5 separate regions of the Homo sapiens genome follow, and regions 2, 3, 4 and 5 are each linked to region 1. The links are contacts of gene promoters, found by promoter capture Hi-C in blood cells and fetal thymus (Javierre and others, 2016). All regions are on one chromosome and are shown on one strand. Each heading gives the region's core, a stretch centred on a gene start or on the middle of the fragment in contact. The rest is flanking DNA. Distances are from core to core; before and after follow the strand shown.

Region 1 (2,700 bases), core at 166-2,665:
TTCTTTCTTTCTTTTTTTTCCTTTGGGTTTTCTGGGAGAATGGGTGTCCTTGCTTCAGAAAAGTCAGGTAAAGCACAACAAGAAGTTTTATTTTAGAGCTTATTCTCACCGTTATAATCTTTACAGCGAATAGTCTCCAGGCTGATGGTCTTCCTCTAGGAAGTTTGTAGGAAGAAGTTGCAGGGTGGGGAAGCTGACTAAGCCACTGAATTTGCATGTGAGATTAAAATCTCCTCAAAGACTGAGATTCCCTGAAACATAGTCAAAACAATTATGGAAGATTTCAGTGATCTTTAATGACACAGTTAAAAAGACAATGCAAGAATGCAGTGCAATGAAACAGATCTTCAAGGATTTATTCACTGGATTCCTTTCGTGGAACATCCATCTCTTCCCAAGGTGTCTATGTGACTCTGAGATTTTTCCTTTTCTCACAGCACTTCAATTGCTGCAGTACCCTCAAAGAGGCTTGCTTTAGCTTGCTGTTTCCTAGAATTAAGATAAATGAGTGACCCCAGGGATAGATGGCTGTGGTTGTCATTCCAAACATAAGCAGCAGTTTGTTTTCTCGCACAGTAAAACATGATATTTCTATGGCCATGCCTATAAAATACAAGATAAAGAGGATGATGAAAGATATCAAAACTTTCATTGCCTTCACATGAGCTTCTGTGTTGGAGTCTCTCAATCCTGTCACATTCGATTGCATCTGCCTGTTGTGTCTCCAAAGGGAAATGATTAAAAAAATACATGTAATTAGGGATAGTGTAAAGAAGAAAATGACTCCCAGATTTAGCAAAATCTGTTTAATAAAGTATTCACTTTTATACATGTTGAGATCCCAGACTGTGTCATTCTTCGTTTTATAATCATTAAGAATCTTCGCAATGTATGCAAAATTAAGTAACGATGAAATAAGTAAGAATACTATCATGAAGGGAAGAACCATATTTGTTCTGCTCTTCAACCAGAGAAATATGTAGTTGGAAAAATTTGCTATCTTCAGGAAATAGAAGATGCTGAGGCTGGTGGCAAACCACATACTTGATTGATTACCAATTACCCAAAAGTAACTAATATATTCAATTAGGTTACCGGAGGCATATATATTTGGAGAGAATATCTGTATAAATCCATCTGTAATTATTATCCATATCAGAAAAATTCTTGAAATAGCTAAGCCGGTGAGAATAAAGCCAATCGTAGATAACTTATTCTTGGCACAGTCAATGCAGTTTACAAGTCCAATAAATCCATTCCCCAAAACCCCAAACACTGACTCACTAACTACAACAAAAATGAAGATGCCTTCCACTACACGTAGCATATCTGCTAATTCTTAATATTGCTTCTGTTACATCTATCTTAGATTACCTGCTGCAGAATGAGGCATATATTGGCTGCTCGACGGAAGTGTGACTTTCTTCTCTTTCATTATATAAAGACTTGAAATTGCCCCAGTAATGGCTTGAGATGGAATCAGAAATTTCTTAATGAAGACCTTTCCAAATATGTCTACAAAACATAGCTAGTCTGGAGAATGTATGTTCAGACTGAATGCCTATCTATAATTTGTTAAAATGCAAATGAAAGTTTCTGTTTCATGGATTTTACATGTCCTCCTGAGACTATTTTGCATTTAATAAATTGAATTGTGGAGGAGGAGTGCCAAACATATACCTATAGAATGTAATGCAAAACAGAAACAAAAATTTTGACTTTATCTTTTAAAATATCAAATCATTATTTATGTCATTTATAATCAATTTATATATGTACAGAAAATACTATATAGAAATGAAAAACAAATTTAGCCACTGTAGATACTTACTCTAAATGATCGATTTAATTTTTAATTAAAATTTAAGCTCAACTCTAGGTATGACAAGTTTCACAAATATGTCACAAATCTGTTGCTGTTGTTTTATACTTATGGTTATTACACCCTTGAATGCAGAAGATTATGTTGACTACCCTTGACATGAAAGGCTCTTAGGAATAATCTCTTCATTTAACACATTACTGTTTGCTGGCACCCATTCATTTATCCAACAAGTATTTACTGAATGTCTAGATACAACAAGCTCTCTTTTGATCTTTGAGGGAATATAGTGGTAGACAGAATTTCAAAACTTGTGTGATTTATGGAGTGTATATTCTAATGAGGGAGGTGGGAAACAATTAAGTAAATCAACATACTGATCTAAGAATTAAAAGTGAAATTAAAAGTGAAATCTAACATTTATTGAGCTTTTATTATATTCCTAGCGCTATGTTAAGTATCTTTTTCTCATCTTAATTTCACAAGCCTTCAATCCTTTAAAAGAGGGGCTATTTTTGTATTTACATTAAATATGAATAAACTAAGCTTTGGAGAAAAGAAGACCTTCTCTCACTTATCCTGGCATGACTACCATAAATAAAATTGCACAATGATTTCAAAATGAAGTTAAATTAAGCTTAGGAATAGACTACAAATGATAGCAAAACAAAACAAACCAACCAAAAGCAAGTAGAAAACTTAAATTCTCATGGGCTGCACATACTGAAATTGACAGATAAGAATATGTATAGATAAATTAGCTAATGTATACACTGTTTACAAAAAACAAGATGCAATTTCAGAGAAGAGCAGCAAGAGACTGTTAGAAAGAAATTGGAACATTTGGGGAAAAAACTTCTAGAAATGGAGAATATAAT
Region 2 (2,700 bases), core at 37-2,536, 370 kb after region 1:
TAACGGCATCTATATTTGGATAGTCATTATAAGTACATCTAATAGCAACACCCGAGCAAAAGTGTTCTGCATATGGCCAAGCTTGAGAGGATGAAATCCATCAAACAAATCTGGTTCTCAGCCCAGTCAATTAAGTTTGCCAATTAAATCCATCCAGTCCATGAATATTTTTTTTCTTTATTTGAGACAGAGTCTCACTCTATCACCTAGTCTGGAGTGCAGTGGCACAATCTCAGCTCACAGCAACCTCTGCCTCCTGGGTTCAAACGATTCTCCTGCCTCAGCGTCCCAAATAGCAGGGATTACAGGCCTGCGCCACCATGCCCACTAATTTTTGTATTCTTAGTAGAGACGGGTTTTCACCATGTTGGCGAAAACTCCTGACCTCAAGTGTTCCTCCCACCTCAGCCTCCCAAAGTGCTGGGATTACAGGCATGAGCCACTGCACCCGGCCAGTCCCTGAAATTCTTATTGTGAATTCCACCATGGTTACAGTCGTAGAGATACTTTACACTGCCTTTGTCATAGCTCCAGAAAGAACGCCCCACTTGAATTTGCAATGTAAGTTCTGAATAATCAAACATCGATTCACCAATCGTTTATTGTAGTTAATACATACATCTGTTATTTGGTATTCATAAATGTCTCCTACCCATCACTCTTATCTCTGAATCCTCAATCAGGAAGTACTCCTGTCCCTAAAATTCGACATAGTTTTCAACCCAAGTTCTACATATGATCTTCCAATATGCCCTTAGATTGTGATTTCCACATTAGATTGTGACTAAAATATGTTTCTCTTTACTAAAGATGCAAATTGAAGACAAGTAGTTTTCTAAATTTTGCATGCCCCATCTCCAAATGATGTAGATGTCTCAAGATGATTTACTGAGTCTTTAGCAGTAGTCTAATACAAAGACTATGCATCGAACTTCTAATGTTAGAAATATAAATGAATAAACTGAATAATTTTTATCACCATCAGTAAGGAATATGCAACAGACTAAGAGTCCTTTGGAAATGATTTATGAATTGGAGCAGTGTAATATTTATTATGTAGTGAGTTATGCAGATAAATATTTTTCAATGTTTACCTGGGTTCAAGAAAAAAGACATCAATTTTTAAATATAGACTGAACCCCTGCCATACCATGTGCTGTATTAGGCACAGTTTAAAGTCTCATATAAAGAGGATCATATCCGATAATAGCTGTAGGCAAACTTAGGTGGCAAAAGATGTCTTCTATGCCCTGTACATGTTGCATAACAAAAGAGAAGGAGATAGGAACCGTCTTCTCTCAATAAGAGAAGTATTCTATCACTGACTTGCAAATCTGTCATAATAATAAAAAGTAGACTAACTTTTCATTGATTGCATTACAGTTTTAAGTCCTTTATAAGCAATATGCTTCTTTATCATTTGTGCTTGAGACAAACAGCTTTTATCTCTATTCACCCTAATATCTGATGCCCCATTTACCTTATACCTGCCATATTATTAAAATTTTGTTTCTACCTTTCATTCTACATTAAGGCCACAGCAGTATATAGAGTAGTCATTAGGATTGTTGCTGTAAGATAATTGCATGATCTAAGCTAATTTCAGATACATTACATCTCTCACAGTAATAAAAATACAAACAAGAGTTGACGTTTATTGAACTCTGTGAGCAAAACACTGTTCAATCACTCTACATGTCTTATTTCATTTAATCCTCACAATAGTCCTAGTAATAGGTATCATCATTGTCTCCATCTTACACATAAGGGAACTGAGATACAGAGTTTCAGGAAATGGATATATATGCATGGAATTCCAGGAAATCTTTAAAGGTATCTCTTAAAATTACCATAATGATAAAACAAATATGTAATACTATATTAACTTTGGAAATTAAACATAACAGTTAATCATATAATGGGAAAGGAAATAATTTTTGCCAACCAAGCCAATCCAACAAGATCAAGAAAACTAGTGTTACTAAGTGCAGTTGCTCATGCCTGTGATCCCAGTGCTTTGGGAGGCCAAGGCAGGAGGACTGCTTGGAGCCAGGAGTCCAAGACCAGCCTGGCCAACACAGTGAGAACCCATCTATAACAAATTTTAAAAATTAGCCAGACATGGTGGCATGCTGTATTCATCCACTCTCACACTGCTATAAAGAAATTCCTGAGACTGAATAATTTATAAAGAAAAGAGGTTAAATTGCCTTATGGTTCCTCAGACTGTACAGGAAGCATGGCTGGGGAGGCCTCAGGAAACTTACAGTCATGGCAGAAGGCAAAGGGGCAGCAGGCACATCTTACATATCCAGAGCAGGAGGAAGAGAAAGAAGGGGAAGATGCCACACACTTTTAAACAACCAGATCTCATGAGAACTCTATCACAAGAACAGCACCAAAAGGAGAAATCTGCCCCCATCATCACTGCCATCACCAGCTGGGATAGTGGCGGCCCAAGCCACCATCATGTCTCACCTAGATTATTGTAGAAGCTTCCCTACTGGCCTCCTGCTGCTGAGCTAGCCCCTACAGAGTGGTCCCATTCATATGCAGGTCATATCATGTCAGCACCCTGCCCAAAACCCTCCAAGTGGTTCCTTGTATCACTCAGAGTGAAATCCAAAGCTCTCATTGCTGTTTGCAAGATCCAGCATGATCTGTCCACCACCCTCTACCTCAGCCCCCATCTGACCTCCT
Region 3 (2,700 bases), core at 95-2,594, 480 kb after region 1:
ACTGGCCATTTGTCTGTCATCTCCCAGGAGGCACTCCTGGCCAGGGGGATGTCAACCCACTCCTGTTGTCATCTAAGCCAAGCATCTCTGACATTCCATTTGGTGGCCTGCTCATGGTCCCCAGAATCAAGTTTGCATGAAGATTGCCTATATCATTAGGGGCAATAACATTAATCAATTCCTGAAAGGAAAGTGTTGATAAGAAGACACTGGAGAAATGATCCATTTGTAAGCAGAAAAAGGGAGTCAAAACAGATTGAGAATGAATTGGGATTTACCTGATATTAGGAAGAGAGATTCTTCCTGGCTGACATCTAGAAGAGAAGCACAGGATGATGGGAAATGTTACATCTCAAATCTTCAAGACTCACAAGTGTTCTACAGGGAAAATTGTCTTCTCACCACACCCCATGCATCCCCTAGGTTAACTCATCAGCCACCATCTGTGAAGGTGCTGGAAGGGGTGGAAGGTGTAAGAGGAGGCAGGGTTGTTACCACACAGAGCAACAGCAATGAGTTCAACATAGAACAGCCCCTTTTTTTCCTCCCTAGCATCCCTCAAGACTTAATGCTTATTTAGTTTATGCATGCCAGGTACTTCAATGTGATATTTTGGTGTTCTTATGCCCTCCATCTCCTGTTAATATATTGCATACATACACATGTTTTCTCAATAGGGGTAACCAGAAGTAATCATTTCAATACAATCTAACCCATTCCACTCCCAGCACATTGAAATACTGCATGTAGGGGAGAGAAAAATTGTAATGATTGGCTCTGATATTTCTACATCTTTAGTTAGACAGAGACAAGTGTTCTATCCAGTTCTGTCTCTGCAGTATCTCTGATGTGTATGTATCTCTATCATCAATGCCGACTGTCTGTACAGCAAGGCCACCATCATCCCTGTGTACTTACTGGGATCAGTATAGGATCTTCACAGCTGGACTTCCCTGAATCTGCCTTGCACTCTCCACTGCAGCCTTCACAGCACAGTTCTATCTCTATAAATTCAAATCTTACCTTCTCATTCCCCTGGAACAAATTCGTTATTGGATTTCATTGTACATTAAATAAATTAGAAGTCCTTATTGTGGAATGAGGGCACAACAGGTCTCCTGATCCTAGGCATGAAAACTCTGCAGCCCCATCTGTGTTTTCATTCTCCTCTCTTCCCCATAATTACCACTGTCACCTCCTAAGTCCCAAGCAGTCACCGCATCTTTTCCCCCTTCTGTTTTACCTTCACTTGAACTCTCAGCTGAGCTCAGGGCCAGCAGGGCCACTGACAGCAGAATCAGCAGCATCTCGCTGGAGGCTCTGGAGTCACTCCCAACTCTGTGCTGGGAGGAACGTGGCAACTCCCTTTATAAAGAGGAGCAAAACAATGGCACCTTTGAGCCCTGGGTGGGCCTCACCACCTCAGAGACTGGGTTCTGCTTTCCTTACTGCAGGTCAGGTGTATCCCTTATTTCTCTTTGGGACTCTAGCCCAGAGGGATGGGGTGGGTTGGATGTTGTTTGTGCCTTATTTCTAAAAGGTACGACTATGACTTGAATAAAGGTTCTAAAGGAACTGTGTCCAAGCTATCAGCACTGTGTCATAATTGAACTTCAGACATCATTAGAGTTTCAATCCTTTTGGTAAGACTATGTCTGCTTTCCACTCTACTATTTATTTCTGTGTAATATTTGTGGGGGCAGTGAAGCTACAGCCAGCAGTGAAGATGGTCAATTTCTCTGGCTCTTTATAGAGCCTATTTCCATCTCTTGTGATGTGTGTGTACAGATAGTATCACAATTGGCTAAAGTTTTGATGCGATAGAGATGGTTTCTGTTACCTGTGTGATGGTGTGAAGACAACACACTCCTGGGCACACATAGATGACAGAAAGCTGCCCCACAGCCTGCTCGGGCTACAACTATTGTTCAAGCTTCTGTGGATCTGACTCAGCTCAGGCAAGGCTTGTTGTTGTGCCACACAGGAAGGCCAAAATTGTGTATTTTAAAGTACCTTTAGGGGTTATTAATGCAAAATGTACACAGAAACCATAAGGAAATTTCTAGATCTGAGAAAACTGAATACATAATTCCTTGCGGGAGCCATGCGATATCATGTTGCCAAAACTTCCTTCATGCTCTTCCCTTTGTCCAGAATATTCTATAATATTCACCCTCTGCTTCATTTCTTTTAATAATTGTATTGAATTCCTACCACTTATAATTAAGTGGCTACAATTCTACATTCAAATAGGATAATCAGATACCCTCGTTAAAGCCTAAATTGCATTATATTGGTATTCTTGGTTTAGTCAGTATTTGTGTTACCTGTTTTCTCAGATTGTTCTTCCACAAAGAGTATTTTTCTATAATATTCTGATATGCATTCCTCCCCACCTTCTTTCTGGTTCTTCTTTGTTCATATTTTATTTTCTGAGTCAAGCCCATTATGTGTATTTTTCTTTATGTATCTGGCTTTTTTCCCCATGAATTTGGTGAGATTTCCTTTATTTAATCTTCTAAGTATTAGGATATAGTACTTACCATCTTTGTTTCATTCTTGTCTGTGTAATTTCATAATACGTGTTGTGTTTCCAAAAAGCCCTATCAGAGACCTGCATTGTTAGCACTTCTTTCAGCTACTGATTCTTCGTTATATCTGATAAATACCTGCTTATCAGTTCATGGAATATACAGGTTA
Region 4 (2,700 bases), core at 97-2,596, 350 kb after region 1:
GAACATATTCCTATAACTTTTTTCCTCACATCAGTCATTTGTTAAACCGAAGATGAAGAAACAGACTTTGTATTTATTACATCCTCCAACATAATTGGCAGCTCTGTGAGGGAAGACACTATATCCTATTCAATTTTACACCCGGTAGTAACAGTATGTGTGTGTACTGTATATATACATATATATATACATACACATATATAAATTTAAGTAGTAACTATATATGTATATATGTATAGTTACTACTTACTATATATGTATACAGTATATAAGTATATATGTATAGTTACTACTTACAATATATGCATAAAGTTACAGCTTACATTTACCTCGTAATATATGTATATATATATATTAGGAGTTAAATGTATTAGGAGGTAAATGTAAACTCTGTGGTTTATCATTTATTCACAATTGCTCTTAATTCTTGGGGTATAGTTTGCCTCCTACATGATGCAATTCAGTGAAATTCCCAGGAGACAAAACAAGATTTTGACCTGAATAAACCACTTATTGTTGTAATTCACAAGTGAGTTTATTCTTCCTGGCACACTTCCAGGTAATATCCATTAGGCTAAGGATTTTGTTTGTTCACTGTTCTATCCCCAAGCCTAGAGCACTGCCCAGTGCGGAATAGCTAATAAATATTGTTGAATGGATAGATGAATGGCAATTTTGTTGGTATGCTCTACATAGTCAGCAGTCAATAAAGGAAACATATATTCGTTCCTGATAATAAGATGATTCACTTTATTGCCCATAAATTGGGCTTTTTCAGGCCATCATGCACGTTGATTGATCCAGAGATCCCTCAAGCATGAAAAAGCAGAGACATAGGTGGTATAGTTATTATCAATAGAGATAAGAAATGTAGCTGGCAAAAAAAAAAATGGGAAACGATGCGTTACAGCTTATTTTAACTATAAAAGGAAAACAGTGAACATAGCAACATATGTAACCTAAGGGATAGGGGAAAAGTTGTTTTTTTTTTTTTAATTCTGGGTAAAAATACATGTGATTACTTGACAAATAGCATATCATTACCATCAGCATCATTTTTAAAATATATTGAGTTTTTAATACCAGGAACTATGAAAAACTATTTATATACATGAGCTCCGTAATTCTCACATATACCCTGTGAGGAAAACATTTTTATCATTTTTCAGAGAAGCAAACCGGGATTTAGAGAGGTTAAGTAAATTCCTAAGGTCATGATAACCAACCAGACCTCAAATGAATCTCCAGTAATTCCTAAAGTTATATTTCATAAGGAGTTCAATTTTCTTAAATGTGTAGATAATTACAAATAATTCTGTTTCTCAAATTTCTGGACAGAAATATTACCTGGGTAATAGTTATTTTTTTTAACATAACTATTGAGGGTCTTTCATACTAAAATATAAATATTTAACATGATTTGATATGTAAGTTCAAGTATTTTATACTCTCTGCAGCCTTAAACCTATTGGCTTATTTTATTAGAGGGTTGGTGGGATTGAGGGATATGGGAGCAAAGGGAGAGAGAGGAAAGAACGTTGTCCTCAGAATGGAAGGGAAACACTTTCCTGTGCTACCCAGAGTAGAGATCAGACAATGTTAAATTTTGAAGCCATGTCTGTTCCTGTCCTGAGGATCCCTAACTAAATTTTGTTAGAAAATCTTGCAGTTTGCTTTTAATGGGAGATCTTTCTGGCAGGACATCAATAGCTTTTGATAGCGTCAAGAAGAAAATAAAGTTACATGCAGAAGCATAAAGGGGTAGGATGAAAGTTGAGGAATATAGGGACAAAAGATGAGGGAAAGGAATATCCTAATACTTGGAAGTTTGAGCATGGAAAGTAGTCTAAAGACGACTTGGGAAGTTCCAAGAAAATGAACCAAGAAAAGAACCTCTGCAAGAACTATGAGAATTCCCAACAATTGGGTTGGATTGATTCATATTAGTCTATTACTTGGGTTACCTTGAGTGTGGGGATTCTTCTTGCAGTTTTAACACTTGTACTATGGTCTGAATGTGCCCCCCAAAAATTCACATGTTGGCATTTAACCCCCAAAGTGATGATCTCAGGAGATGGGACCTTTGGGAGGTGATCAGGTCATAAAGATGAAACCCTCGTGAATGGGATTAGTGCCTTTATAAAGGAGACCCCAAAATAATTCCCTTACCCCTTTTGCCATGTAAGGTTATAGGGAAAAGTCATCTATGAACAAGGAAATGAACCCTCACCAGATACCAAATTTGTGAATGCCTGGATCTTGGACTTCCCAGCTTCTAGAACTATAAGAAATAAATTTCTGTTGTTCATAAGCACCCATTTTATGGTATTTTTTATAGCAGCCTGAACAAACTAGACTTAATAGGATTTGCTCAGCAGGATTACCACCAGGTCAAGTCATGAGATCTTTTCAAAATATAAGTAAACCTCCCCTTACCCCTACTCTCCACAAATACAAATTTCAGCAGTGCTCTTGGGACAACTAAAAGGCCCAAGGACCTTCCCAAAAGCCTACTACAAATGAAGAAACTATGGAAGTCTTAGTAGCTTAATTGCAGGACATCCCTGCCAGTTTCTATCCTGATTAGGGATCTGCAATGAACATTACAAAATCTTCACCATCTCCATGGCTTTCAACACCAAGCATATGGACTTAGCCACTGTAAAATAGTGGCATGCATCAATGAACAATAAAGAGAAA
Region 5 (2,700 bases), core at 104-2,603, 390 kb after region 1:
AAAATCCCATAACTCCAGTCTAATCAAGAGAAAATTATCAGACACATCTTCACAAAGAGACATGCTGCAAAATACCTGACCAGTATTCTTTAAATCATCAAGGTCATCAAAAGCAAGGAAAGTCTGAGAAACTGTCACAGCCAAGAGGAACCTAAGGAGACCCAACATCTAAATAAAATAAATAAATCCCCGTCCAGGATGGGGTCCTGGGACAGAAAAATACATGAGGCACGACTAAAGGAACCTGAATAAGATATGAACTTTAATTAATAATAATGTGACAATTGGTTCATTAATTGTAACAAATATACCATGGTATTGTAGGATAGGAGAAACTGAGTGCAAGACACATGGGAACTCCATGTGCTAGCTCCACAATTTTTCTATAAATTTAAAATTGTTCTAAAAATAAAGCTTGTTTAAGAAAATAAAAACAGGGGGATGGCAGCTAGATGCTAGGCTACAGACTATCAATGCATAAGATTTTAATCCCTAAATCATTAGTCCCTGCATCGTTAGGACTTAACCTGCATCAGTTTCCAGGGCGAAGGAAACTCGATGAAAGGAAACTTCTTACATTCATATGCCTTGTCACACTGTGAGTCACACTCACCAAATGGTCTCTCCAATTTACTGATTATATTAATACTCCTAAATTACTCATCTATACCTTCACCCACTTAAAATAATTGGGTTTTTTATTAAATACAGTATGTATGTTATTTTCTTGGGCTGAAACAACTCAATTAAATTACCACTAACTCAAAAGGAAATCAGAAATATAAAAAGTTTCATTCTCGGAATACTGTCTCTGGGAGAAAAAGGCGGGTTTTCGGTTTTTGCTTTATTTTAGTTTGTTTTTTGGTACTCTTCAATGTAACTATAAGAATGGAAGTCATGGGAGAATAAAGGGAAAACAAGAAGGCCTGGTTACTGTTGTGGAAGAAAGACTTTCTTAGGAGAAAGGTTGAGGAATTTACTAGAGAGCAATGTCAGGAAAAATGAGAATCTGGAGGCCGGGCTAGGCACACATCAAAGGAATCTGCATCTAATTACTCAGAAAGAAGAAACTGAAAAAGAGAGGTTTTTGTTTCTAGATTGGAAAGGGTGACTACTAACATCCAAAAAAGTAAACAAATAACAGAAAACTAACAGAAGAGACCCCTCCCCAGGAACTAGTTATATAAAGTGGGCACATATTTGAGAAGAGAAAACCAGGAAAATTAGCCGAAATAGTATTACGTGATTTTCAGATTCACATATATGTTGTAGGTAAAGATGCAGGTATTTCCAGTGTGAGAGAGAAACATAATCAAGATATTTGAAGAGTCAGCTCTCATAGAAAAGAAACAATGAAAATGAGATCTACTAAGGCTAGCAAGGGGCAGGAGTAATATATGAGGTCAAGGTTTAGGTCAGATGCTGTTCTGATAGAATAATTCCTAAGTGGCATTACCCACAGTGGGGAAAAGTTGGACAAAATATGTTTGAATAAAGCCTCTTTTATTAGAACTAGAATTTATCAACTTCCTATCTCTCACTGTGGAGAACTCCATAAACATATTTAAAGAAAGTATTTAAAAAAAACCACCTGAGAACGTGAAAGCAAATGGAATATTAAAGGAATTTGAAGGCATTATATTCCAACAAATAGTTACCCATAAGATGGTAGAAAAGGAAATAGATCACATTTAGAAATAGTTTGAGTTTATATATCACCTGACCATGCCTAAAATGAGTAGGCGAGTACAGCATGGAGACCATAATTTAAAATATTGTATTGAATACTTGAAATTGCCAAAAGGACAGATCTTGAGTGTTCTCACCACACATATACAAAAAAAAGGTCACTATGTGAAGCGATGGCTATGTTAACTAGCTAGATTATGGTGAGCATTTCACAATGTATACATAAATCAAAATAGGAAGTTGCACACCCTAAATATATACAATTTCTATTTATCACTTATACCCTAATAAAGCTGAAAATATTAAAATATTTTAAAAAATACATATAAAGTTGATTTTATTTAAGTACAAAAATAAAATGAAATGAGTGGGCATTCGTGAGGGGGCTTTAAACTGTAGAGGAATATCTCACCAGCAGGAGACAGGTTGGGGAGATGTCTTCAACCTAAATTTTACTCTCAAACTGGAACATTCAAAAGCAGAGGAAGACAGAGTTTTGAGGAGCCAATGGCAGAGATGTTGGCCTTGCTAGGCCCTTTGGGGTTATAGGATTCAGAAGCAGCAACAGAGTATACATTGGTTTTAGAGTGAGGGGGTTTATCACAAGCTTGAAATGTTTCTGTGTGGGGGAGAAGTTTATGTTGGGGTCAGACTGTCTCTGGGTGGAGGGGAGATTATCTCGGGTCTGGCATGCCTCTGGTAGGGGAGAGGTTTGGAATTTTTTTGGTCAGAGATATTATTTGTGGTTTATGGTCATGCTGACCTTAGCCAGAAGGCTGATGACCTTTGGATTTAGGCAGTTTTTGATCAAGGTGAACTTAAAATGACAGTGCTTGTCCAAGATGGCAATACTCCTGCTCTGTCACCAGCGATAACAGGTTTTTTAAAAATATTGCATTACAAACACATTTAAAGGAAATTTTACTATTAGGAAATATATTCACTTACAGGCAAACAGGATTTCTCTTCTTGCCTGAGAATACATGCTCCAGCTATCAATACCATTTAGTG

The links. Contacts are between HindIII fragments. The CHiCAGO score rates a contact against its expected background, and 5 or more counts as called.
Region 2: a contact is called between a fragment that was not itself captured here and the fragment with the promoter of TAS2R10 in region 1, in 1 of 17 cell types (M2 macrophages). The highest score is 5.3, in M2 macrophages.
Region 3: the fragment with the promoter of PRB4 here is called in contact with the fragment with the promoter of TAS2R10 in region 1 in 12 of 17 cell types (total CD4 T cells, M1 macrophages, naive CD4 T cells and 9 more); the score reaches 13.1 in total CD4 T cells.
Region 4: a contact is called between a fragment that was not itself captured here and the fragment with the promoter of TAS2R10 in region 1, in 2 of 17 cell types (M2 macrophages and M1 macrophages). The highest score is 6.7, in M2 macrophages.
Region 5: a contact is called between a fragment that was not itself captured here and the fragment with the promoter of TAS2R10 in region 1, in 7 of 17 cell types (M1 macrophages, M2 macrophages, erythroblasts and 4 more). The highest score is 6.7, in M1 macrophages.

What each region holds. Positions count from the first base shown.
Region 1 is chr12:10,824,943-10,827,642 of GRCh38, forward strand. TAS2R10 (taste 2 receptor member 10) reads right to left here and starts at 1,416. Exons shown (of 1, transcript NM_023921.2): 1 at 277-1,416. The coding sequence starts at 1,327. The coding sequence ends at 404. The HindIII fragment of the contact is 6,023 bases long and covers 1-2,366 here.
Region 2 is chr12:11,196,767-11,199,466 of GRCh38, forward strand. The region is part of intron 1 of LOC107987435 (a long non-coding RNA gene); the gene reads left to right. It also overlaps the pseudogene LOC100420583. Among named protein-coding and RNA genes, the nearest start is that of TAS2R42, 11 kb to the left of the region's middle. The HindIII fragment of the contact is 2,414 bases long and covers 80-2,493 here.
Region 3 is chr12:11,309,092-11,311,791 of GRCh38, forward strand. PRB4 (proline rich protein BstNI subfamily 4) reads right to left here and starts at 1,345. Exons shown (of 4, transcript NM_002723.6): 1 at 1,244-1,345; 2 at 279-314. The coding sequence starts at 1,307. The HindIII fragment of the contact is 5,809 bases long and covers 1-1,931 here.
Region 4 is chr12:11,173,703-11,176,402 of GRCh38, forward strand. It overlaps SMIM10L1 (small integral membrane protein 10 like 1), which reads left to right. Exons shown (of 1, transcript NM_001271592.2): 1 at 1-2,314. Among named protein-coding and RNA genes, the nearest start is that of PRH1-PRR4, 3.4 kb to the left of the region's middle. The HindIII fragment of the contact is 3,407 bases long and covers 1-2,700 here.
Region 5 is chr12:11,215,285-11,217,984 of GRCh38, forward strand. The region is part of intron 1 of LOC107987435 (a long non-coding RNA gene); the gene reads left to right. Among named protein-coding and RNA genes, the nearest start is that of TAS2R42, 30 kb to the left of the region's middle. The HindIII fragment of the contact is 1,882 bases long and covers 413-2,294 here.